2 separate regions of the Homo sapiens genome follow, and region 2 is linked to region 1. Evidence: promoter capture Hi-C in human tissues and cell types (Jung and others, 2019). All regions are on one chromosome and are shown on one strand. The core of a region is centred on a gene start or on the middle of the fragment in contact, and the rest is flanking DNA. Distances in the headings are between cores, read along the strand shown.

Region 1 (5,068 bases), core at 192-2,691:
AAAGTAGACCATTTACATAAATAAATTAATAATCATGGCAACTCTAGAAGATACTTAGTGAAAAAAACCCTTGATTGTCTTTGAACCAATCAACTAAAATAACATGATGAAATGGAGACTGGGCTTTGAATCAATTTGGAGTTTGCCTGGTTTCATAATTCATGGTTCTTCTCATGTAACTAATACAAAGTCCAGCTTCTGACATTGTAGGAGCTCAGTAGAGGTTGAACAAGCTACAAATGTACACGGATAGGTACCCTCTCCTAAGATGGGCAAGTGGAGGCTCCTCTACCTTAACACTATTCATTTTTCCTCCAAAATAAATTGATAACTAAATTGAAGAGCAGATACTCACAAAACAATATCATGAGACTTTACAACATCACAGATGATTTTAGATATTCAGGCATATTAGGTCAATTAGACATACGAAGTAAATAACTGAATGTTCTTGGGCTAGACGGAACCTCCGCTACAAACTAGCACTGAATGAAATGTGTCAGTTTTGAAAAAGGAGGTTTTTATACATTACACAACCTCTAAGGGCACTTAACAGCTCTAATATGTTTTATCAGGGCCCACTGCAGCAAAATTTATTTTATTGTAAAGCAATATTTTATGCTAAAATAAAATAGTTCTAAAAGTTGTTTCCACCCCTCTTTATGAATAACTTCTCACTTCTCCATGGCGAAAGAGGACTGACCACAGCAAAAATTCGGTGGAAACCAACAGCTCCTGGAACACAAAAACTGGGGTTGTTTATAATCTCTCCACCCTGAATATCTAGCACCATTACTATATAATAATAGGTGCTCAATAAAGGTTTGTTAAATAACTTTATTTTTAAACCTTAAACAGATACTAGAAGAGTCCATAGTTGATTTCTGGTCATGCAACGGTTTATTTCTATATTGTAAGTTATGTATTGTTATGTATTATTTCTGTATTAAGAGAACTGAGACCACAGTAGCAAACATCATTTAAAAAAAAAAACAGCTCTATATAGTTTGCAAAAGCCTATTTTTTAAAAGTTTAAATGAAACAACCAACGTTTTGAGTTGGGAGGATGTCCTGTTCTCTCTTGGGAGTTTTCACAACCAGCGAAATCAGTATAGTTACCACTGTTTTACGTACAGAGAACAAGAATTAGAGGCTATCACTAGCCAGAGCACAAAGTGATCTTAGGTCTCCCTCGAGACAAAATCCACTGGCGTGTGGATCAACTGCTTGCAGAGAGCATCTGCTGCCGAGGCCAATAGGAGCCGTGTGTACTCAAGACCCTAACCAGGATCCTGCAGGTCCCGCCTCCGCAGCCCCACGGGGCTGCCGGCCCCCCCACCTCCCATCGCGAGCCTGGCTGCGCCGGCGTGCTTGAGCCCGGTGACTGCAAGGCCCCGGGTCTCCCCTGCGCCTGCGCGGCGAGCAGCTGGCGGAACCGGCATCTTCTGGCGCCAGCTTCCGGCTTAGCGGCTGAGCTTCAGGCTTGACGTCAGGTGGGAAGGGTGTGGGGTGGCAGGTGGGGGCGGTTGGGAGGTTGGGGGGGGTTGGGGTGGGGGGGGTGGGGGGTGGCAGATTGACGGTGTGGGGGGAGTCAAGTGGAAGGTGTGGTCCAGCAGGCGGCGAGAAGTCTGTGGGGCAACAGACCGGGGGAAGGTCTGTGGGGCGTCAGGCGGGGTATCTGTGGGACGTCAGGTTGGGGTCTGTAGGGCGTCACGTTGGGGGTCTGTGGGGCGTCAGAGGGGGGAATCTGTGGGGCGGCAGGTGGGGGGTGTTCGGGGCGGGGTTTGGGGTGTGTGTGGCGGCAGGAGGCGGGGGAGGTCTGTGGGGCGTCAGGTTAGGGTCTGTGAGGTGTCAGGCGGGGTTTACGTGGGGTGGCAGGTGTGGGGTGTGTGGAGAGTCAAGTGGGGGGTGTGGGGCGTCAGATTGGGGGTCTGGGGGATCAGATGGGTGGTGTCTGGGACGTCAGGCGGGGGTCGGGGGGTCGTCAGGCGGGGGATGTGTGGGGAGTCAAGTAGGGGAAGTGGGGCGTCAGATTGGGGGTCTGGGGGATCCGGTCGTGGGGGTGTCTGGGACGTCAGGCGGGGGGCCTGAGGGGCGTCAGGTGGGGGGGTCTGGGAGGCGTCAGGCGGGGGTCGGTCTATGGGGGCAGCAAGCAGGGTGTTTGTGCAGCGGCAGGTGATGGGAGTTGCCGAGTCCACAGCGCTGTAGACTGCGCCGCATTAGAAGCCTGGCCTCCTGATGCTGTGCTCTTCATCTAGACCCAAGCCCCAGGTCGTGGGACGATTTCTCCCGTTTTTGACTCCCTGGAACTGTATTGCCTGCTTTACCTGCGTACATGTTGATTCTTTCTCATGGCAACCCCGCAGGAAACCATCAAGATCTCATTTTACAGCTGGGATTCTCTGGTTCACAGAGGTAACGGAGCTTGCCCGAGGCCAGGTATTCACTGGGAATCCGTGAAGGGTTGGGGGAGAGTAGGGGGAACGGGCAGAGGAATGATGTAGACTCCTTAGGGATTTTCCATTTTCCGAGAGGGTACAGGGGGCATTGGAGCGGGAGAGACTTTAGGCTTGGAGGGAATTACTTTATTTCTCTTCTTACACTTGGTCTTTCATTAACTTTTGGGATCCCAAAGCCCTTCTAGCGTCTTTGTCTGCTCATTTCTTTTTGCTGAGATTGTCCCAAATTGTCACTAAGTGCTGTGGAAGATAGGCAGCTGTAAACCCTTTGTTTCCTAGGGAAACACAGCTTGTCAAGGGTTGCATGAAGGATACTTCAGTTGCATTCGTCACTTACTCCTTTTTTTCCTCTCTCTTTTTTAAGTGCAATAGCATAGCACTTAATCACCTTCCATAGTCACTGAATAAAACCTGCCGGTTTATTTTCATGTGTCACTTCAGGACAATTTAGTCAGAACTGAATGAATGATGAATCGTTATTGTGTACTAATTGCTTGCATTCATTCTCCTGAAAGCTTTGCTTATTGTTAAAGAGTGAAGCTTCTTCCCACCTTTTTATCTCGTTAATATTTTGCAATATTTATATTTTAAATGTTGCTTGGATCAGCAAGCATTATAGTATTAAAATTATCAAGACTTACTACTTTTTAAAGCACATTTTGTAGATTATCTGATTTTTATCTTCATTCTAATTTCTACATAGTTTTTAACCCCATTTTATACTTTAGGAAACTGAAGCTTAGAGAAATTAAGTAATTGCCCAGTATCACACAGCTGTTAAATGTTACCATCCACATTTGAACTCAGATTTATTAGAGTCTAAAACCTGAGCCCTAACCAGGAACCTCCTCATTTGTCTTACTGCAAATGGAATGAATCAGCTAAAATCCTCAGAATCCAAAAAATAAAATTAGCATGTAAAAATGAATGGAAGTCCTAATCTTTGACTTTTTATGCCGTTGTAATGAGCAAAAATACTTACGACTAGTTTATGGCAATTTTGGAATCCTTGTTATAGGCGTAGCCATTTTAGGATACATGTGTATCCACACCATTACCTACATTTTGTCATTATAAAGTAATTTAAGTCCTTGCCTGGGATTTGTTGAGCGAAACTTTAACTTTGAGACCATGTAGAATCTATAGATATATCTGTAGAAACTATATACCAATATTTGAATATTAAAGAAATATTAGTTAACCTACTTTATTTTACATAGTTTATATAGAAATTGTAGATATAGCATTGTGTACCCTGTTTACTCCCTTGAGGGAGCAAATTTTGGGAGATAGGGCAGTGAACATACATAACCAGGTGTTACAGTCAGTTATGCAAACCAGATTCAGAGAGAGGAAACAACAGTATATTCAAAGATAAAAGTTTCAGGAAAGTGGTCTGTCATGCGTTTATCCCTCGATCTAACCCACTCAGTAGAAGCTGGGTTTCCTTTGTCAGAAATTAGACTGAGAAGTGCACCTTTTTTCTCTATAGGCCACCAAATGGCTGTTGTAAACCATTGCCAGGGCAGTCAGAGCTACTGAATATTTTTAACCAAACTGAATCTCACCCACTGTGTGTCTGCGTGCGTGTGTGAGTGTGTGGTATGTAACCAGACCATAGCTTTCCCTAGTGTGCTTATCCAGGAGTCAACTCTAGGTGTTCAGTAATTCATTCAGCAAACCTCCTACATGTCTGCCACTAGAGCACAAATTACAGCACAATTCCTGGCCTCTAGATACTGACAGTATAGTAAATGTAGTATTGTAATTAGCCATTTGATTTATTTTACTGGATACTAGATAATGTAGCCTTGTGCATGTGTGTGTTGCTCATTTGTTTGCGAATTGGAAGATGGGGAGTCACATATTTTCTGCACTGTAATAGATCTCCCCACTCCCAGCAAAACTTCTCCAACTCCACTGCCTGGGATACATGGTGGTGTGCCAGGAGGGGTCTGAAACCACAGGATAAAACATAGTTTCTATTCATGGACCATACATTTTACTTGAAATCTTTTTTTGGAAAAGTTATTTAACATTACATAGTTTAAACCATATTAAAATTACTCTAATATATTTATCTTCCAGTAGAACTTGTATGAATATTTAAAACTAAAGAAATTTACACTTGTGAAATTTTAGGAAATATTCTTGCCCTAGCTTAGCAAGGTACCCATTATTTCTTCTCTGACTTTAGCAGATACTTTAGGGAAAAGCTCTCCCCTCAGGACATTTTACGTTTGTTTTATTTTGTTAAAGCACTTGGCATTTTATTATACTCAGTTTCCACTACACTCCCCCCCTTTTTTTCTTTTCTTTTTTTTCTTTTTTTTTTTTTACAGAATATATTTTCTTTTAAAGCAGAAACATGCAGTATTTTCCCCTAGCACAGTGTATGTAGCACATCTCATATGTAGTCATTAAATACTCAGGGAATAACTGGCATGGAAATATGAAAAAAGCAGCATACTAATAAATTTATACTTATAAGACAGTAAGTAACTATGGTAAAATAGATAAAGTGAGGATTTTATGGGTAGGGCATTTTGAGTTGGAATCGAATGCTGGTGTGATTTGGCATAGCTAGCAGTGAAGAAGTGAAAGGAAAC
Region 2 (5,068 bases), core at 1,702-4,201, 950 kb after region 1:
TAGTCCAGTAGCAAAAGAGGAGAAGGAACTACATTTATTAAGCACACACTTGTACAGACACAGGGCTCTGAGGGTTTACCTTATTTGTATTAGACCATCTTGAAAACTATATATTCATTTTCAACTGCTGACTAACAAATTATCACAAACTTAACTGCTTAAAATGACCCCCACTTGCTATCTTGCAATACCTGAGCACAGCCTGGCTGAGTTCTCAGCTCAGGGTCTCAGCCAGTCTGCATCCTCCTCTGCAGCCCCAGTCGTCTAGCCTCATTCAGGCTATTGGAGCAATTCCATTGTCCCTGGCTGTGTCCCAAGTAATTACTTTTCCTTTGCCTGTGGCTGCCAGTGGAGGGCTGCCCTCAGTTTGCAGAGGCCTCCCACATTTCCTGTCTTGTGACTCCTCCATCTTCAAAGGCCAGAACTTCTTACACATCAAATACCACCCCTGCAGGGTTCAACTCTTTCTAACTTCCTCTTCTACTGCCAGCCAGTTGAAACTGGAGTGCGATTAAGTTAGGCCCACCCAGATAATGTCTCTATATTAAGGTCAAATGATTAGTAACTTTAACTACAGCTGCACGATTCCTTTTTTCATGTAATGTTACATAATCTTGAGAGTAACATCAGTGGTAGAGGTCATGGAGCCATCTTAGAATTCTGTCTACTACAAACTACCAAATGAAGAAGAATATTATTATTTCATACATAAGAAATCTGAGACGGATGCTTCAGAACGTACCTAAGAATATACTACTTAAATTTGGCATAGCTGATACTGCCTTTAACATTTCTTTTAAAATCATGGATGAAACTGGAAACCATCATTCTCAGCAAACTATCGCAAGGACAAAAAACCAAACACCGCATATTCTCACTCATAGTTGGGAACTGAACAATGAGAACACATGGACACAGGAAGGGGAACATCACACACCGGGGCCTGTTGTGGGGTGGAGGGAGGGGGGAGGGATAGCATTAGGAGATATACCTAATGCTAAATGACGAGTTAATGGGTGCAGCACACCAACATGGCACATGTATACATATGTAACAAACCTGCACATTGTGCACATGGACCCTAAAACTTAAAGTATAATAATAATAAAAATATATATATATATAACTATCAACAAAGTTTCCAGTTTTCCTTATTTTTATCCTTGACTAAAACCTCACAGAAAATTAATGTAATCAAAATAATTTAGTTTTATATTTAAAGTTATACTTTAATATGAATTTCTATACTGAAAATCACACCTAACATCTTGAAATACCTTTAACTTAATCATTCGTTCACTCTTCTGCTAAATACATAATTTTTATTAACTTCATATTAGTACTTTACTAAGTCCAGGTGGTACATTTACCAAAATATATGCAATATTTTAATGTATTAAAATGTATAGTTTTTCCTATTTTGATCCCCACTTAAAAATTAACATAGTGTATAGTGCATGTATTGCCTTGATAAATGAGATTGCAGTAAAATTGGTCTTTAGGATTTGTTCTTGGAAACCATTAATAATTCAGTTCAAGGAATGATCAAAAGTTTGACATAGAAAATAAATTTTCAATATTCTGAAAAAAGCTTGATTATTCCTGGAATAGAAACTTTTACATTTTGATGGCCTCATATAGGTGGTCAGTTTCAAATAATCCTGCATCATTCACAATTGAAAGTGATGTTATAAGAAACATATTTCTGGCCAGGCGCGGTGGCTCACGCCTGTAATCCCAGCACTTTGGGAGGGCGAGGCGGGCGGATCACGAGGTCAGGAAATCGAGACCATCCTGGCTAACACGGAGAAACTCCGTCTCTACTAAAAATACAAAAAAAAAAAAAAAAAAAAAAAAAAAAAATTAGCCGGGCGTGGTGGTGGGCACCTGTAGTCCCAGCTACTCCAAGGCTGAGGCAGGAGAATGGCGTGAACCCGGGAGGCGGAGCTTGCAAAAAAAAAAAAGAAACATATTTCTTCCTTATATAATAAAACAGAATTGCTTGTAACATCACAAGTGTTCTCCACGTCTCCTCCCTCTCTGGAGGTCTCTGTCCTCTTGGAACTGTTGCCTGACATAGACCAACGATGATCATGACTTTACATCTTTGGGTGACTTGCTGTCATTACCTGTGTAGAGTACAATATAATGGGGAAAAAAGGACACTCTTAGTTGTTCTGTTCTAAATATGACTCTATAAACCATGGGTGATTTGCAACACAGAAATTCACATACAGAAATACAAATAAGTTCAAACCTTGATACAGGACCTATTTTAAAATACTATAAACATATTCATCTCCAAAGCCTTTCCACAATCAATCATACTATCTGATCCCTGGACCCCTGACTTTTTTTCAGGTGTTTCTGGTTATAGTAAATAACATTTACTATCCACTCTGCAAGATATAAATTTATCCAATCAATTACCAACTCCATGTCTTTTGCTTCTTAAAGACCTCCCAAATCTACCCATTTTCCTCCAGCCACATCACCATCATTTTGCTTAGTTCTCGTGAACCCCCCTGACTATTGCTGTAGCTACTAAAGTACTGTACTCCCACCCACAATTTCTCAATTTCTATTTTTTTAAATTCTTTTTTTTTTTTTAAACATAGACAGGGTCTCACTGTGTCTCCCGGGCTGGAGTGCAGTGTGTGATCATAGCTTACTGCAATCTGGACCTCTTGGGTTCAAACCATCCTCCCACCTCAGCCTCCCAAGGACGTGGGACCACAGGCGTGCACCACCACTCCCAGTTTATTCCTGATTTCGAATCCAATTTTCACTCTACACCCAGAGAGATAATAGAAAAACACTCATCTAATCACATTACTATCATCCTTAAAATAAACTACCCTCAGAGAAAAGCAAACAAAATACTTATTATGGTTTTAATGCCCTAAAAAATCTGGCCCTTCAGTTACTCTTGACTACCCTGTTGTTCTCCCTACATTTGGCAAATGAAACTTTTATTCGTGCCTCCAAACACACTGCTTCTTTTGACTGGAATACCGTCCCCTGGACCCTGACTTCTCTTAACCCTCCTAACTTCTAATTCTGGGTCTTAGCTTAAATATGACTTTTTAAAGAATATCATCTAATTCATCAGGATAAATTATTAGTCCCACTTTAATTGAGCTTTTTGTTGAAATAGTTGTAGATTTACATGTAGTTGTAACAATATACAGAGAGATATTACACATCCTTTACCCAGGTTCCTCCAACAGTATTATCTTGCAGAAATATAGTACAATTATCACAACCAGGATACTGACAGTGATACAATCCAAGAATCATATTCGTGTTTCTACTGATTTGTTTGTACTCCTCGAGTATGTGTGTGTGTGTGGGTGTTGTATACAATTTTATCACATAGGTAGCTTTGGGCACAGTAGTCCCCCCTCATCTGTGGTTTCACTTTCCATGAGTTCAGTTACCCTCCATCAACCATGGTCCCAAAATATTGAATCGAAAATTCCAGAAATAGGCTGGGTGCGGTGGCTCACACCTGTAATCCTGGCACTTTGGGAGGCCGAGGCGGCCAGAACATGAGGTCAAGAGATTGAGACCATCCTGGCCAACATGGTAAAACCCAGTCTCTACTAAAAATACAAAAATTAGCTGGGTGTGGTGGTGGTGCATGCCTGTGTTCCCAGTTACTTGGGAGGCGGAGGCAGGAGAATCCCTTGAACCTGGGAAGCGGAGGTTGCAGTGAGCCGAGATCGCGCCACTACTCTCCAGCCTGGTGACAGAGCAAGACTCCATCTCAAAAAAAAAAAAAAAAAAAAAAATTCCAGAAAAAAACAATTCATGTGTTTTAAATTGCTCATCATTCTGAGTAGTGTGATGAAATCTCACATCATCTGGCTCTGTCCTGCCCGAGACGTGAATCCTCCCTTTGTCCGGGCTGTCTATGCTACCAGCCTGTTAGTCGCTTAGTAGCCATCGCGGTTATCAGATCGACTGGTGTGGTGTTGCTGTCTTTGTGTTCAGGTAGTGCTTATTTTACTTAAGAATGGCCCAAAGCACAAGGGTGGAGTGAGGCTGGCATATTGTTATAATTGTTCTACTTTATTATTCATTATTGTTGTTAATCTTTTAAACTTCTTCGTAGGTATGTGTGTACAAGAAGAAAACAGTACATATAGGATTCAGTACCATCTGTGGTTTCAGGCATCCACTGGGGATCCTGGAATGCATCCTTCTCCAATGAGTGGAATACATTTTTTTTAGCATAGACAGGGTCTCTACTGTATATGTGTTTTAACATACACAGGGGACTACTGTATAGACCACCACAGACAACACACAGCGCTCTCGCTATAAAGATTCTTTATGTTGTTTTTTTTTATGGTCATGCCCACCTCCATCTCCTTCCCTCCACCTCCCTGGCAACCTTTCATGTTTCCAATCCCCTTTAGACTCTCTTTTATCAATTTGTACTTCTTACATCACTTTGCTTGACTGTACCTCTTTGGTCCAATTTTATGTGGTATCTACATTCTCACCTAGGCTGTAAGCTTTACATTAACTACTGTATTTCTAGGTTCTGTCATATTGTTAGGTCCAAATACGTGATCAGTGAGCATTTATTGACTGCTTGCTCTATTTTGAGGGAAAACAAAATGCACAAAGCATGGTGGAGGGGAGTCTTGGCCAAGAGCCAAGTGCTTATGGGGAAACTTGAATTGTATACCTGGCCCTACAGTGGAACACTTGACTTGTGGACCTCAGTTAACCCAGGTGTAAAACAAAACAGATGAGAACATGAAGTAACACTGGCTCGGTAAACATCCTGGTGTAGGAAGTTGGGTGGGTTGAGTTCTAGAGACACTACAAGCCAGGCTGTACTGTACATCCCATATCAGAAATGAAGGCATTGCCAGACAGCCCAGCCCATGCTACAGTCATGCATATCTCTGGGAAATACTCATGGTGAACCTAATCTGAAGAAAACTTTGCAGTATTATTGAGCAATAGACAGGAGTTGTGTTAATAATTTGCATAGGTGATTTTGTGCATACTTTTATTTCCTGTGGGTTTTTTTGACCCTAAAAATTGCATT

The links. The method cuts DNA at HindIII sites, captures the fragments that hold promoters and counts their contacts. A contact is called where the count stands out against the background at its distance.
Region 2: a fragment that was not itself captured here is called in contact with the fragment with the promoter of LIG4 in region 1 in 1 of the 25 tissues and cell types used here (dorsolateral prefrontal cortex).

Annotation. Positions count from the first base shown.
Region 1 is chr13:108,211,909-108,216,976 of GRCh38, reverse strand. LIG4 (DNA ligase 4) reads left to right here and starts at 1,441. Exons shown (of 3, transcript NM_206937.2): 1 at 1,441-1,493; 2 at 2,367-2,439. RefSeq lists a silencer at 1,239-1,378 and an enhancer at 1,222-1,516. The HindIII fragment of the contact is 8,794 bases long and covers 1-4,589 here.
Region 2 is chr13:107,266,709-107,271,776 of GRCh38, reverse strand. All of the region lies in intron 1 of NALF1 (NALCN channel auxiliary factor 1), which reads left to right. Among named protein-coding and RNA genes, the nearest start is that of SNORD31B, 52 kb to the left of the region's middle. The HindIII fragment of the contact is 4,400 bases long and covers 752-5,068 here.